Linked DNA regions of Homo sapiens: regions 1, 2 and 3 are each linked to region 4. Evidence: promoter capture Hi-C in 16 types of primary human blood cells and fetal thymus (Javierre and others, 2016). All regions are on one chromosome and are shown on one strand. The core of a region is centred on a gene start or on the middle of the fragment in contact, and the rest is flanking DNA. Distances in the headings are between cores, read along the strand shown. Region 1 holds the start of B3GNT3 (UDP-GlcNAc:betaGal beta-1,3-N-acetylglucosaminyltransferase 3). Region 2 holds the start of SLC5A5 (solute carrier family 5 member 5). Region 3 has its middle 19 kb from the start of CCDC124. Region 4 holds the start of NXNL1 (nucleoredoxin like 1).

What was found. The method cuts DNA at HindIII sites, captures the fragments that hold promoters and counts their contacts. A CHiCAGO score of 5 or more calls a contact.
Region 1: a contact is called between the fragment with the promoter of B3GNT3 here and the fragment with the promoter of NXNL1 in region 4, in 1 of 17 cell types (endothelial precursors). The highest score is 5.3, in endothelial precursors.
Region 2: a contact is called between the fragment with the promoter of SLC5A5 here and the fragment with the promoter of NXNL1 in region 4, in 3 of 17 cell types (naive CD4 T cells, M0 macrophages and erythroblasts). The highest score is 5.5, in naive CD4 T cells.
Region 3: a contact is called between a fragment that was not itself captured here and the fragment with the promoter of NXNL1 in region 4, in 4 of 17 cell types (naive CD8 T cells, erythroblasts, M2 macrophages and 1 more). The highest score is 5.7, in naive CD8 T cells.

The regions. Positions count from the first base shown.
Region 1 is chr19:17,793,735-17,796,620 of GRCh38, forward strand. It overlaps B3GNT3 (UDP-GlcNAc:betaGal beta-1,3-N-acetylglucosaminyltransferase 3), which reads left to right and starts at 1,404. Exons shown (of 3, transcript NM_014256.4): 1 at 1,404-1,472. RefSeq lists enhancers at 602-1,299, 1,300-1,997. The HindIII fragment of the contact is 23,173 bases long and covers 1-2,886 here.
Region 2 is chr19:17,870,684-17,873,383 of GRCh38, forward strand. It overlaps SLC5A5 (solute carrier family 5 member 5), which reads left to right and starts at 1,262. Exons shown (of 15, transcript NM_000453.3): 1 at 1,262-1,993. The coding sequence starts at 1,637. The HindIII fragment of the contact is 10,072 bases long and covers 1-2,700 here.
Region 3 is chr19:17,912,197-17,915,129 of GRCh38, forward strand. No RefSeq gene overlaps it. Among named protein-coding and RNA genes, the nearest start is that of CCDC124, 19 kb to the right of the region's middle. The HindIII fragment of the contact is 4,460 bases long and covers 1-2,933 here.
Region 4 is chr19:17,459,474-17,462,183 of GRCh38, forward strand. It overlaps NXNL1 (nucleoredoxin like 1), which reads right to left and starts at 1,453. Exons shown (of 2, transcript NM_138454.2): 1 at 1,071-1,453. The coding sequence starts at 1,396. RefSeq lists an enhancer at 1,359-1,859. The HindIII fragment of the contact is 2,658 bases long and covers 1-2,261 here.

The DNA.
Region 1 (2,886 bases), core at 154-2,653, 330 kb after region 4:
TGTGTGCATCCAGAACCGAGGCCAGTAGTGCCACATTTGACACTATGACATTTCCGGTAATTGCCCTCCATACAGTTTTAATCATGCATTTGCTCTGAGGGTTCACTCCCCAGACCTCTCCCATCCAGAGTACCCAGGGGCTATTTCTTACATTTTACAGGTGAGGAAACTGAGGCACAGACAGGCCACATATACACCTCGGCTTCCTCCTCGGGAAGAAACAGGGATGAAGGAGGAAGGAGGGGTTTCCTGAAACCATAGCCCAGCTCACACACCTGGACTTCCCCAACCCCAGAGCTCCCAACGCTGGGTCCAGGCTAGAATCTCCTAGAGATTCAGAGGCAGCACAGGGCAGGGTTCGAATCCTAGCCAACCCAACCCTAAAAATCTACAAATCTGAGGCCAGGTGCAGTGGCTCACATCTATAATCCAGCACCTTGGGGATCTGAGGCAGGAAGGTCACTTGAGGCCCACAGTTAAGACCAGCCTGGGCAACATATCAAAACCCCATATCTAGAAAAATGACAAAAATTAGCCAGGCATGCTGGCGGGTGCCTGTAGTCCCAGCTACTCGGGAGGCTGAGGTGGGAGGATTGCTTGAACTGGGGAGGTCGACATTGTAGCGAGCGGAGATCACACCACTGTACTCTAGCCTGGGTGACAAAGCGAGATCCTGTCTCTCAAAACAAGAAAAAAAGAAAAAGAAAAGACTACAAATCTGTCTGATTGTTGACTTCCAGAACCCTTCCAAATGCCAGCAGGTGGCATCTGGATGTCTGGGGGCACATCGTAGGTTTTCGGGTCCTGGAATTATTTTCAATATAGAGATGGAATCTCACTATGTTGCCCAGGCTGGTCTCAAACTCCTGGGTTCCAGCGATCCGCCCCCCTCGGCCTCTGGAAGTACAGGAGTGAGCCACTGCGCCGACCCCAGCTTCAGGAATCTTTGAACTCCCCGCAGAGAGCAGAGGTGCCGCAAGGTTTAACCTGCCTCCCTCCCTCCTTATCGCCATGGGCTTATCCAATCATTTCTTCACGGAACACACGTGGGCCAACGCTGACCGGGCTCTGTGCCAGGAACCCGCAAGGCGCTGCTTGTTCATCTCCAGCCACGGGGAGCTCATTCCCTAGCAGCGGGCCAGACCCAAGGTGGGGTCGTGAGCCCCGAGAGGGGCGAGGGTGGCAAGAGCGGGATGGCAGAGGTGGCAGCCGGGACCGGAGAGGGGAAGAGGCATGGCCGGGGAGGGAGGAGCCGGCAGAGAACTTCGCCTGGGCCACCAGGAAACTCAGCCGAGCTGGGAAGAGGGGGACTGGCAAGCGGCCAAGGCGGAGGGAGGCAGGAAGGCGTGAGGCCCGGTGGGAGGGAGGAAGCGGGAGAGGGGCGGGAGCTCTGGCTCAGGTAAAAACTCTTTCTTCGGCTCGCGAGCTGAGAGGAGCAGGTAGAGGGGCAGAGGCGGGACTGTCGTCTGGGGGTGAGTGTCGGCAGCCCCCGGAGGATCTGGCGGACCCCAGTGGTGGGGGTTTGGGGGTGGGGAAGTTGTGGCTCTGGAGAAGCCCCTGCCGGTCTCCACCGCGCATACCCTGCAGATGTGGGAACATTCGGGAGCCCCGAGTCTCGAGAACCCGGTTGCCCTCACCCATCCGTAATTGTCTCCGGCGTTCCCAAGGCCAGCTCGGACCTGGGTCGGGGAGGAAGCCTCCCCCACAGCTGGCGACCCGGGACCCCGGCGCCCCTCCCAGATTGGGCGGGATCAGACCCCCGAGGCGGATGCCGCTTAGTCAGACTTGGCTGTTACTGTTACCTGTGTTGTTGAGATTATTGGCCCCTTGGTTGGGAGTATCTGGGCAAGCCAGCGCTGGGGTCCCCGGTTGGGTTTGGGAACTGCAGGTGACCCCCAGTCTCTCCCTGCGGTTCCGGTGCTGCAGGCCCTGCCAGGTGGCTGGGCGGCATTCCAGGGGCCCTGGCTGCGTGGCATGGACACATTGCTGAACCGGCCTCAGTTTCCCCTCCGTGAGGTGGAACAATGAACCAGCTGGGATGAGGATGCCCGAAGCGTTTAGTCAAAGGAAATTTTTGTGATGAGGTGTACTGCTGGCCACTGGGGGCCCTTGCGTGACTGGCGTTAGGTCTCTGAGCCTCAGTTTCCCTGTGTGTTAAGGGGGGGTCTCATGGCATGGGACCTTGGCGAGGATGAGTTGAGTGGATAGGAGCTGTGGCCACTCAGTGGGTGCCCAGGGACAGTCAGCTGTCATCATAATTATATTAATTATGTCTGTAGCCACTGTTCAGATTCACTCCTGTTCCAAGAATCCCGACCATCTTTTCCTCTGGGTCAGATTTAAACTTTTTGTTTGTTTGTTTTATTTGTAGAGGTGGGGGACTCACTTTGTCACCCAGGCTGGAGTACAGTGGCTCCATGCACTGTATTCACTGCAGCCTCAACCTCCTGGGCTCAAGTGATCCTCCCACCTCAGCCTCCCGAGTAGCTGGGACTACAGGTGCACACCACAGGCAGCTAATTTTAAAATTTTTTTGTGTGTGGAGACGGGGTCTCACTATGTTGTCCAGGCTGGTCTCAAACTCCTGGGCCCAAGCAATCCTCCTGCCTTGGCATCTGAAAGTGCTGGGATTTCAGGCATGAGCCACTATGCCCAGCTCTGATTTTTTTAAATGGACACTTCTCAAGAGGAAACTGAGGTCGCCCCTCAACTTGGGCGGGGGACTCCTGCAGTCCAGATCTGGGATTCAGGGCCCATGGGAAGCCACCTGGCCGTCTAGGTCTGGGGCCAGCCCTGGGGGCCATCACTTCCTCCCACTGGCCTGTTCTCAAGGTGACACCAGGCAGGGCTGGTGTCAGGAGGAAGAGGTGTGGCCCCCAGGTCAGG
Region 2 (2,700 bases), core at 12-2,511, 410 kb after region 4:
TTTTCATACAGACAAGATCTCACTATGTTGCTCAGGGTAGTCTCGAATTCTGGGACTCAAATGATCCTCCCACTTCAGCCTCCCAAAGTGCTGGGATTACAGGCATAAGCCATCATGCCCGGCCTCTGACGCTGTTTCTTTCAACCCCCAGGATTTCAGATTCCACCAGCTTATGGAGAAGGGAACCAAGTTTGAGATGCGTGATTGCCCAGAAAGTTGGAGGCTGAGCTGAGACTTGAACCCAGAGACCAGAACCTCCAGAGGTCAAAGTCCTCCTGGGTCCCCCAGAGAAGGGCCCTGAGATGACAGCTCGTTGGTCCTCATGGAAGCGTGACCCCCCCAGTAGACTTTCTCCCACACCCAACCTTGGTTTCCTCATCTATATGATAGGGACAAGCCAGACTCTACCTCCCTGGTGGTCATGGTCTCCGCTTATTCGGGTTCATAACCTTAAAGGCCCCTCGCACCACCTCAGTGAGCCATTTATGCCTGGCACAGGGCCAACTCTCAGTGCATATCTGCAAAGGAACCAATGAATGAATGAATGAAGTGACAAATGAATAAAGGAATAAATGAATGAGGCACTTATCATGTACCAGGCTTTCGTTACCACGTCCCATTTATTCCTCTGAGGCAGGGTCTATTTTATCCTTGTTACAGATGGGGAAACTAAGGCCCAGGGAGGAGCAAAGTCTTCCCCAAGTATGTACCCACTCAGAACTTGAGCTCTGAATGTCTCCCACCCAGCTTAGCCCAAGAGCGGGGTTCAGTGATGCCCACCCCCTAAGGCTCTAGAGAAAGGGGGTAGGCCCACATGCCAGTTTGGGGGTGGTAAAGCCAGGTAAGTTTTCTTTATGGGTCCCCTGAAACCCTGAAAGTGAACCCCAGTCCTGCATGAAAGTGAGCTCCCCATAGCTCAAGGTATTCAAGCACAATACGGCTTTGAGTGCTGAAGCAGGCTGTGCAGGCTTGGATAGTGACATGCCCTCTCTGAGCCTCAATTTCCCCACCTGTCAACAGCAGACAGTGACAGCTGTGATCAGGGGATCACAGTGCATGGGGATGGGTGGGTGCATGGGGATGGAGGGGCATTTGGGAGCCCTCCCCGATACCACCCCCTGCAGCCACCCAGATAGCCTGTCCTGGCCTGTCTGTCCCAGTCCAGGGCTGAAAGGGTGCGGGTCCTGCCCGCCCCTAGGTCTGGAGGCGGAGTCGCGGTGACCCGGGAGCCCAATAAATCTGCAACCCACAATCACGAGCTGCTCCCGTAAGCCCCAAGGCGACCTCCAGCTGTCAGCGCTGAGCACAGCGCCCAGGGAGAGGGACAGACAGCCGGCTGCATGGGACAGCGGAACCCAGAGTGAGAGGGGAGGTGGCAGGACAGACAGACAGCAGGGGCGGACGCAGAGACAGACAGCGGGGACAGGGAGGCCGACACGGACATCGACAGCCCATAGATTCCTAACCCAGGGAGCCCCGGCCCCTCTCGCCGCTTCCCACCCCAGACGGAGCGGGGACAGGCTGCCGAGCATCCTCCCACCCGCCCTCCCCGTCCTGCCTCCTCGGCCCCTGCCAGCTTCCCCCGCTTGAGCACGCAGGGCGTCCGAGGACGCGCTGGGCCTCCGCACCCGCCCTCATGGAGGCCGTGGAGACCGGGGAACGGCCCACCTTCGGAGCCTGGGACTACGGGGTCTTTGCCCTCATGCTCCTGGTGTCCACTGGCATCGGGCTGTGGGTCGGGCTGGCTCGGGGCGGGCAGCGCAGCGCTGAGGACTTCTTCACCGGGGGCCGGCGCCTGGCGGCCCTGCCCGTGGGCCTGTCGCTGTCTGCCAGCTTCATGTCGGCCGTGCAGGTGCTGGGCGTGCCGTCGGAGGCCTATCGCTATGGCCTCAAGTTCCTCTGGATGTGCCTGGGCCAGCTTCTGAACTCGGTCCTCACCGCCCTGCTCTTCATGCCCGTCTTCTACCGCCTGGGCCTCACCAGCACCTACGAGGTACCGGACAGAGGCCCGGGGGTAGGACCTGCCCCACTGGCAGTGCTGGGACCCCGTGTGGGGGAGGCGCTGGGGCTTTGGGCCGCTGTACAGGAGGACGCGGATGGCACCTCGGTGCTTTAACGGAAGGGGCCCCTAGGCAGACACGTGGGGAGGGTTCTAGGAAGAGGCCCCAGGCGCCCGGCGAGGGGCAGGAAGGAGGAAGAGAGAGCCTGGCGTCCTGCTCCTTCGGTGGAAGCGCGCGCGGGGCGGGGCCCGGCTCGACCAGGTGTGTCCTCACGGGTGGACACACACCTGCCCCCCACCTGCCCGGGCGTGCAGACCCACGTGTGCGCGCTAGAGGGGACTGCTGACGGCTCCGGGGTTCGAAACCTGGCTTCACTGCTTTCTTGTATCTTGGGCAAGGGGCGTGCCTCTCTGTTTGGGTTTCCCAGCTGTCCAATGGGCGAATTACAGGACCTCCCTCCAGGGGAGAGGGTAAAGCGATTAAAATCGTGACCGGGGCCCGGTGCGGTGGCTCACGCCTGTAATCCCAGCACTTTGGGAGGCCAAAGCATGCAGATCACCTGAGGTCAGGAGTTCAAGACCAGCCTGGCCAACATGGCGAAACCCCGTCTCTACTAAAAATACAAAAATTAGCCGGATGTGGTGGTGGGCACCTGTAATCCCAGCTACTTGGGAGGCTAAGACAGGAGAATTGCTTGAAC
Region 3 (2,933 bases), core at 179-2,678, 450 kb after region 4:
TTTCACTGGTGCATATTTTCTACCAGAAATGAGAGTTTTAGGTATGAATGAAGACTAGTCTGTGTGAAAACCTGTAATTGTGCTTTTGAAAAAAGATCTCCAGGTCTTCACAAAACTTTTTATTCCCTGAGGATGCCCCACTGCAAACGCCTGTGAAGCTGGAGTGCCAGACACTGAGGCCTGAGGCTGGGGGACACAGAGGCTACCAGCTTGCTTGGACCTCCTCAATCTGTCAAAGAAACTGGCTTGGGGACCACTGGAGGACCCAAATCTCCCTCTTCTCTGGGCAGTGGGTCTTGTGCATGCTGGCCTTGGACCTACTGAAGGCCCTTCCAGCCCCAGTGCTATTCTCTGAATTCATGGGGAGCAGAGGTGTTGGGACTGAGTCCTGTTGGAGACTCCAGAAACACTGACGTTTCTTGTTTGGTCCTGGGGTTAGGTAACGACGGCTGTTTCTTTTTTTCTTTCTTTCTTTCTTTTTTTTTTTTTTTTTTTTGAGGTGGAGTCTTGCTCTGTCACACGGGCTAGAATACAGTGGTGTGATCTTGGCTCACTGCAACCTCCACCCCCTGGGTTCAAGCGATTCTCCTGCCTCAGCCTCTCGAGTAACTGGGATTACAGGCATGCACCACTACCCCCAGCTAATTTTGTATTTTTAGTAGAGATGGGATTTCTCCATGTTGGTCAGGTTAATCTCAAACTCCTGAGCTCAGGTGATCCACCCACCTCGGCCTCCCAAAGTGCTGGGATTACAGGTGTGAGCCACCACACCTGGCCAGCAATTTATTTTTAGTCAGTTGTGGACTATCCTGGGTGGCTCCTGCCTAGATTATTCTAAGAATTTCTTTTTTCTTTTTTTTTTATTTTAAGACAAGGTCTTACTCTGTCGCCCAGGCTGGAGTGCAGTGATGTGATCTTGGCTCATTGCAACCTCCACCTCCCCAGTTCAAGCAATTCTCCTGCCTCAGCCTCCCAAGTAGCTGGGATTACAGGCACCTGCCACCGTACCCAGCTAAGTTTTGTATTTTTAGTAGGGACGGCATTTCACCATGGTGGCCAGGCTGGTCTTGAACTGCTCATCTCAGGTGATCCACCCACCTCGGCCTCCCAAAGTGCTGGGATTACATGCTTGAACCACCGGCGCCTGGCCTATTCTAAGAATTTCACCATTTGGACAGCTATTAGCCAGCTTTGGTTGGTCATGTGGGTCCCCACTGCATTCAACTCAGTCCTAGCCTGATCTTCAGTTTCCAACAATATCATAATATCATTGAGATAGTGTATTATTACACTTAAGATCTGCACCAAGTCCAAATCCCACTTCTGACACCAAAAGTAAAAAGAAAACATAAATTAATTTTTTTTTCTGCTCACACATCACTCAACACAACATTCCTTTCTTTTCTTTTTTCTTTTTTGAGACGGAGTCTCATTCTGTCACCCAGGCTGTAGTGCAATGGCGTGATCTCTGCTCACTGCAACCTTCTGCCTCCCGGGTTCAAACGATTCGCCTACCTCGGCCTCCCGTGTAGCTGGGACTACAGGTATGCACCACCATGCCCAGCTAACTTTTGTATTTTTAGTAGAGATGGAGTTTCACCATGTTGCCCAGGCTGGTCTCGAACTCCTGACCTCAGGTGATCTGCCAGCCTCAGACTCCCAAAGTGCTGGGATTACAGGCATGAGCCACTGTGCCCAGCCTTAACACAACATTTCTGACACCAGATGTATGGGAACTTTTCCAAACGTCAAGTAATTCTCCAGCAGACACCAGCTGGGTGGGGTTTTTTGTTTGATTTTTTTGTCTTTTTATTTTTTTAGGTGGGTGTTTTTAAATTCAATTCAGTTCAGAAGCTATCTACCTGAAGATAGTATCAGATCCCATAGGTTAAGGGCTCAGTCCCACAAGATGGTCCCTACTGCAGATGCCATCTGCAAACAGTAGGTTTTCACCTGTACTTCTAATGCACTGGCTGTAAATCAAGACTCCCTTAGGCTGGGCACAGAGTCCCCTCCTGTAATCCCAGCACTTTGGGAGGCCAAGGTGGGAAGATCACTTGAGCTCAGGAGTTTGAGACCAGCCTGGGCAACATGGTGAAACCCCATCTTTACAAAAAATACAAAAAATTAGCTGGGCATAGTGGTGTGCACCTGTGGTCCCAGTTACTTAGGAGGCTGAAATGGGAGAATCGCTTGAGCCCAGGAGGTGGAGGTTGCCGTGAGCCAAGATCGCATCATTGCACTCCAGGCTGGGCAACAGAGCAAGACCCCATCTTAAAAAAAAATGGTGGCTGGCCGCAGTGGCTCATGGTTGTAATCCCAGCACTTTGGGAGGCCAAGGTGGGCAGATCACCTGAGGTCAGGAGTTCAAGACCCGTCTCTACTAAAAATACAAAAATTAGCTGGGTGTGGTGGCATGTGCCTGTAATCCCAGCTACTCAGGAGGCTGAGACAGAAGAATCACTTGAACCCAGGAGGCGGAGGTTGCAGTGAGCCGAGATTGCACCATTGCACTCCAGCCTGGGCAACAAGAGTGAAAATGTCATCTCAAAAACATTTTTTTAAGTACTATTTTTTTAAAGAAGTGGGGGTGGCCAGGTGCAGTGGTTCACACCTGTAATCCCAGCACTTTGGGAGGCCAAGGTGGGAGAATCAGTCAAGCTCAGGAATTCAAGACCAGATAGCACAACATGGTGAAACCCTATCTCTACAAAAAAATACAAAAAAATAGCCAGCTGTTGGAGGCACACACCTGAGGTCCCTGCTACATAGGAGGCTGAGGTGGGAGGATTGCTTGAGCCTGGGAGATGGACACTGCAGTGAGCCAAGATCACCCCAGCACTCCAGCCTCGGTGATAGAACAAGACCCTGCTAAAAAAAAAAAAAAAAAAAAAAAAAGGTGGCTAGGCACAGTGGCTCATGCCTGTAATCTC
Region 4 (2,710 bases), core at 203-2,702:
GTGGCACCATCTCGGATCACTGCAACTTTCGCCTCCTGGATTCAAGCAATTCTCCTGCCTCAGCCTCGCAAGTAGCTGGGACCACAGCTGTGCGCCACCAGGCCTGGCTAATTTTTGTATTTTTAGTAGAGACAGGGTTTTGCCATATTGGTCAGGCTAGTCTCGAACTCCTGACCTCAGGTGATCTGCTCACCTTGGCCTCCCAAAGTGCTAGATTTACAGGTGTGAGCCACCGTACCTGGCCTTACTTTTTTAAGAGACAGGGTCTACCTGTATTGCCCTGGCTGGAGTGCAGTGGTGCGATCATAGCTCACTGCAGCCTCAAACTCTAGGCTCCAGTTATCCTCTTACCATAGCCTCCCAGGTGGCTAGGACTACAGGCATGAGCCACCGTGCCCAGCTAGGGGTCTCTCTTTAAAGCCACTTTTTCGGGGAAGCATCCTCTGACCCCGGAACCTCACCAAGGTTTCCCTCATTGTATTTCCACTTTGTGGCCTAGCTTTGTCCTCTGAGCACTACTGCAATTCGCTATTATATATTTGTTTTTTGATTTTTTAGACAGAGTCTCCCTCTGTCACCCAGGCTGGAGGGCAGTGGCACGATCTTACCTCACTGCAGCATCTGCCTCCCAGTTTCAAACGATTCTCCTGCCTCAGCCTCCCAAGCAGCTGGGATTACAGGCGCCCACCACCACGCCTGGATAATTTTTGTATTTTTAGTAGAGACAGGGTTTCACTATGTTGACCAGGCTTGTCTCAAACTCCCGACCTCAGGTGATCTGCCCACCTCGGCCTGCCAAAGTCCTGGGATTACAGGGTTAAGCCACCATGCCCGGCCTTGCTATTACATAGTTGATTCTGTCTTTTGCATCTGTTCCTCTCACTCGGCTCTAAGCTCCCTGGGGTGGCATGGAAGCCAGCATGTGGAAGTGGGCACCCCTGTCTGTACCCCCTAGTTCCCAGTATATGGACTGGCACACAGGGGCTGCTCATTCACTCTAGTTAGAATGGATGCTTCACTTTCAGCGAACATGCCCCCTCCTCCAGGAAGCCCTCCCTGCCCCTCCTCACCTCCTCAGATCATCCTCAAAGGGCAGGAAAAGCCATTTCTTTGGCATGTCCTTGAGGAACAGGTCCTGCTGCTCCTCCGTGGAGTCCTGGGACACGTACACCAGGGCCAGCTGAGCCGCCCGCAGTACATAGAACTCATCTGTGAGCCGCACGAAGAAGTCCTTGAGGATGGGCACGAAGGCCTGGCACTGTGGACAAGCCCCAGCACCAAAGAACAGCAGCACCAGCCGGTTCTCCAGCCTGCGACTGACCTCAGCCTCCGTATCCAGCTCGTCCTGGTCGCTATTGTTGCGGATCAGGATGCGGCCAGAGAACAGGGAGGCCATGGTAACCTGGGTTGGGTGCTGGGGACAGCGCGGCGTGTGGTCCCCGGTCTGCTGACTGGCTCCTCTCCCAGAAATAGAAATCTTTAGAAAACCAGCTTAGGACTTCACTAATCTGCCTAAACCTTGACCTGAGGGGCCTCTAAGGGCGGGGGGCAGGGCTCTCTGTGTGGCCCTTCTCAGGAGAGAGCCGCAAACGCATTAAGAAAACACGTAACAGATGGGCACGGTGGCTCACGCCTGTGATCCCAGCACTTTGAGAGGCAGAGGTGGGAGGATCATCTGAGGTCAGGAGTTTGAGACCAGCCTGGCCAACATGGTGAAACCCTGTCTGTACTAAAAAATAAAAAAATTAGCCAGGCGTGGTGGTGGGCACCTGTAATCCCAGCTACTTGGGCAGCCGAGGCAGGAGAATCGCTTGAAGCCAGGAGGCGGAGGTTGCAGTGAGCTGAGATTGTGCCACTGCACTCCAGCCTGGGCGACAGAGCGAGACTCCATCTCAGAAAAAAAAAGAAAGAAAGAAAGAAAAAAAACCAAAAAACCATGTAGCAGACAGTGACTCACGCCTGTAATCTCAGCACTTTGGGAGGCTGAGGCAGGAGGATCACCTGAGACCAGGAGTTTGAGAGCAGCTTGGGCAACAGTGTGAGACCCCATCTCTATGAAAAAATTAAAAACTTAGCTGGGCATGGTGTTGTCATGAGCCTGTAGTCCCAGCTACTCAGCTGAGATGGAAGGATCACTTGAGCCTGGGAGGTTGAGGCTACAATGACTGCACTACTGCACTCCATCCTGGGTGACAGAGCAAGACCTAGTGTCTAAAAATAAAAAATAGGCTGGGCACGGTGGCTCACGCCTGTAATCCCAAAGCTTTGGGAGGTCAAGGTGGGTGGATCACCTGAAGTCAGGAGTTCGAGACCAGTCTGGCCAACATGGAGAAACCCCATCTCTACTAAAAATGCAAAAATTGGCCAGGTGTGGTGGCTCACGCCTGTAATCCCAGCACTTTGGGAGGCTGAGGCAGGTGGATCACAAGGTCAGGAGATCGAGACCATCCTGACTAACACAGTGAAACCCCGTCTCTACTAAAAGTACAAAAAAAATTAGCCGGGTGTGGTGGCGGGCACCTGTAGTCCCAGCTACTCGGGAGGCTGAGGCAGGAGAATGGCGTGAACCCGGGAGGTGGAGCTTGCAGTGAGCCGAGACCGCGCCACTGCACTCCAGCCTGGGTGACAGAGTGAGATTCCGTCTCAAAAAAAAAAAAAAAGCAAAAATTAGACCGGGTGTGGTGGCTCATGCCTGTAATCCCAGCGCTTT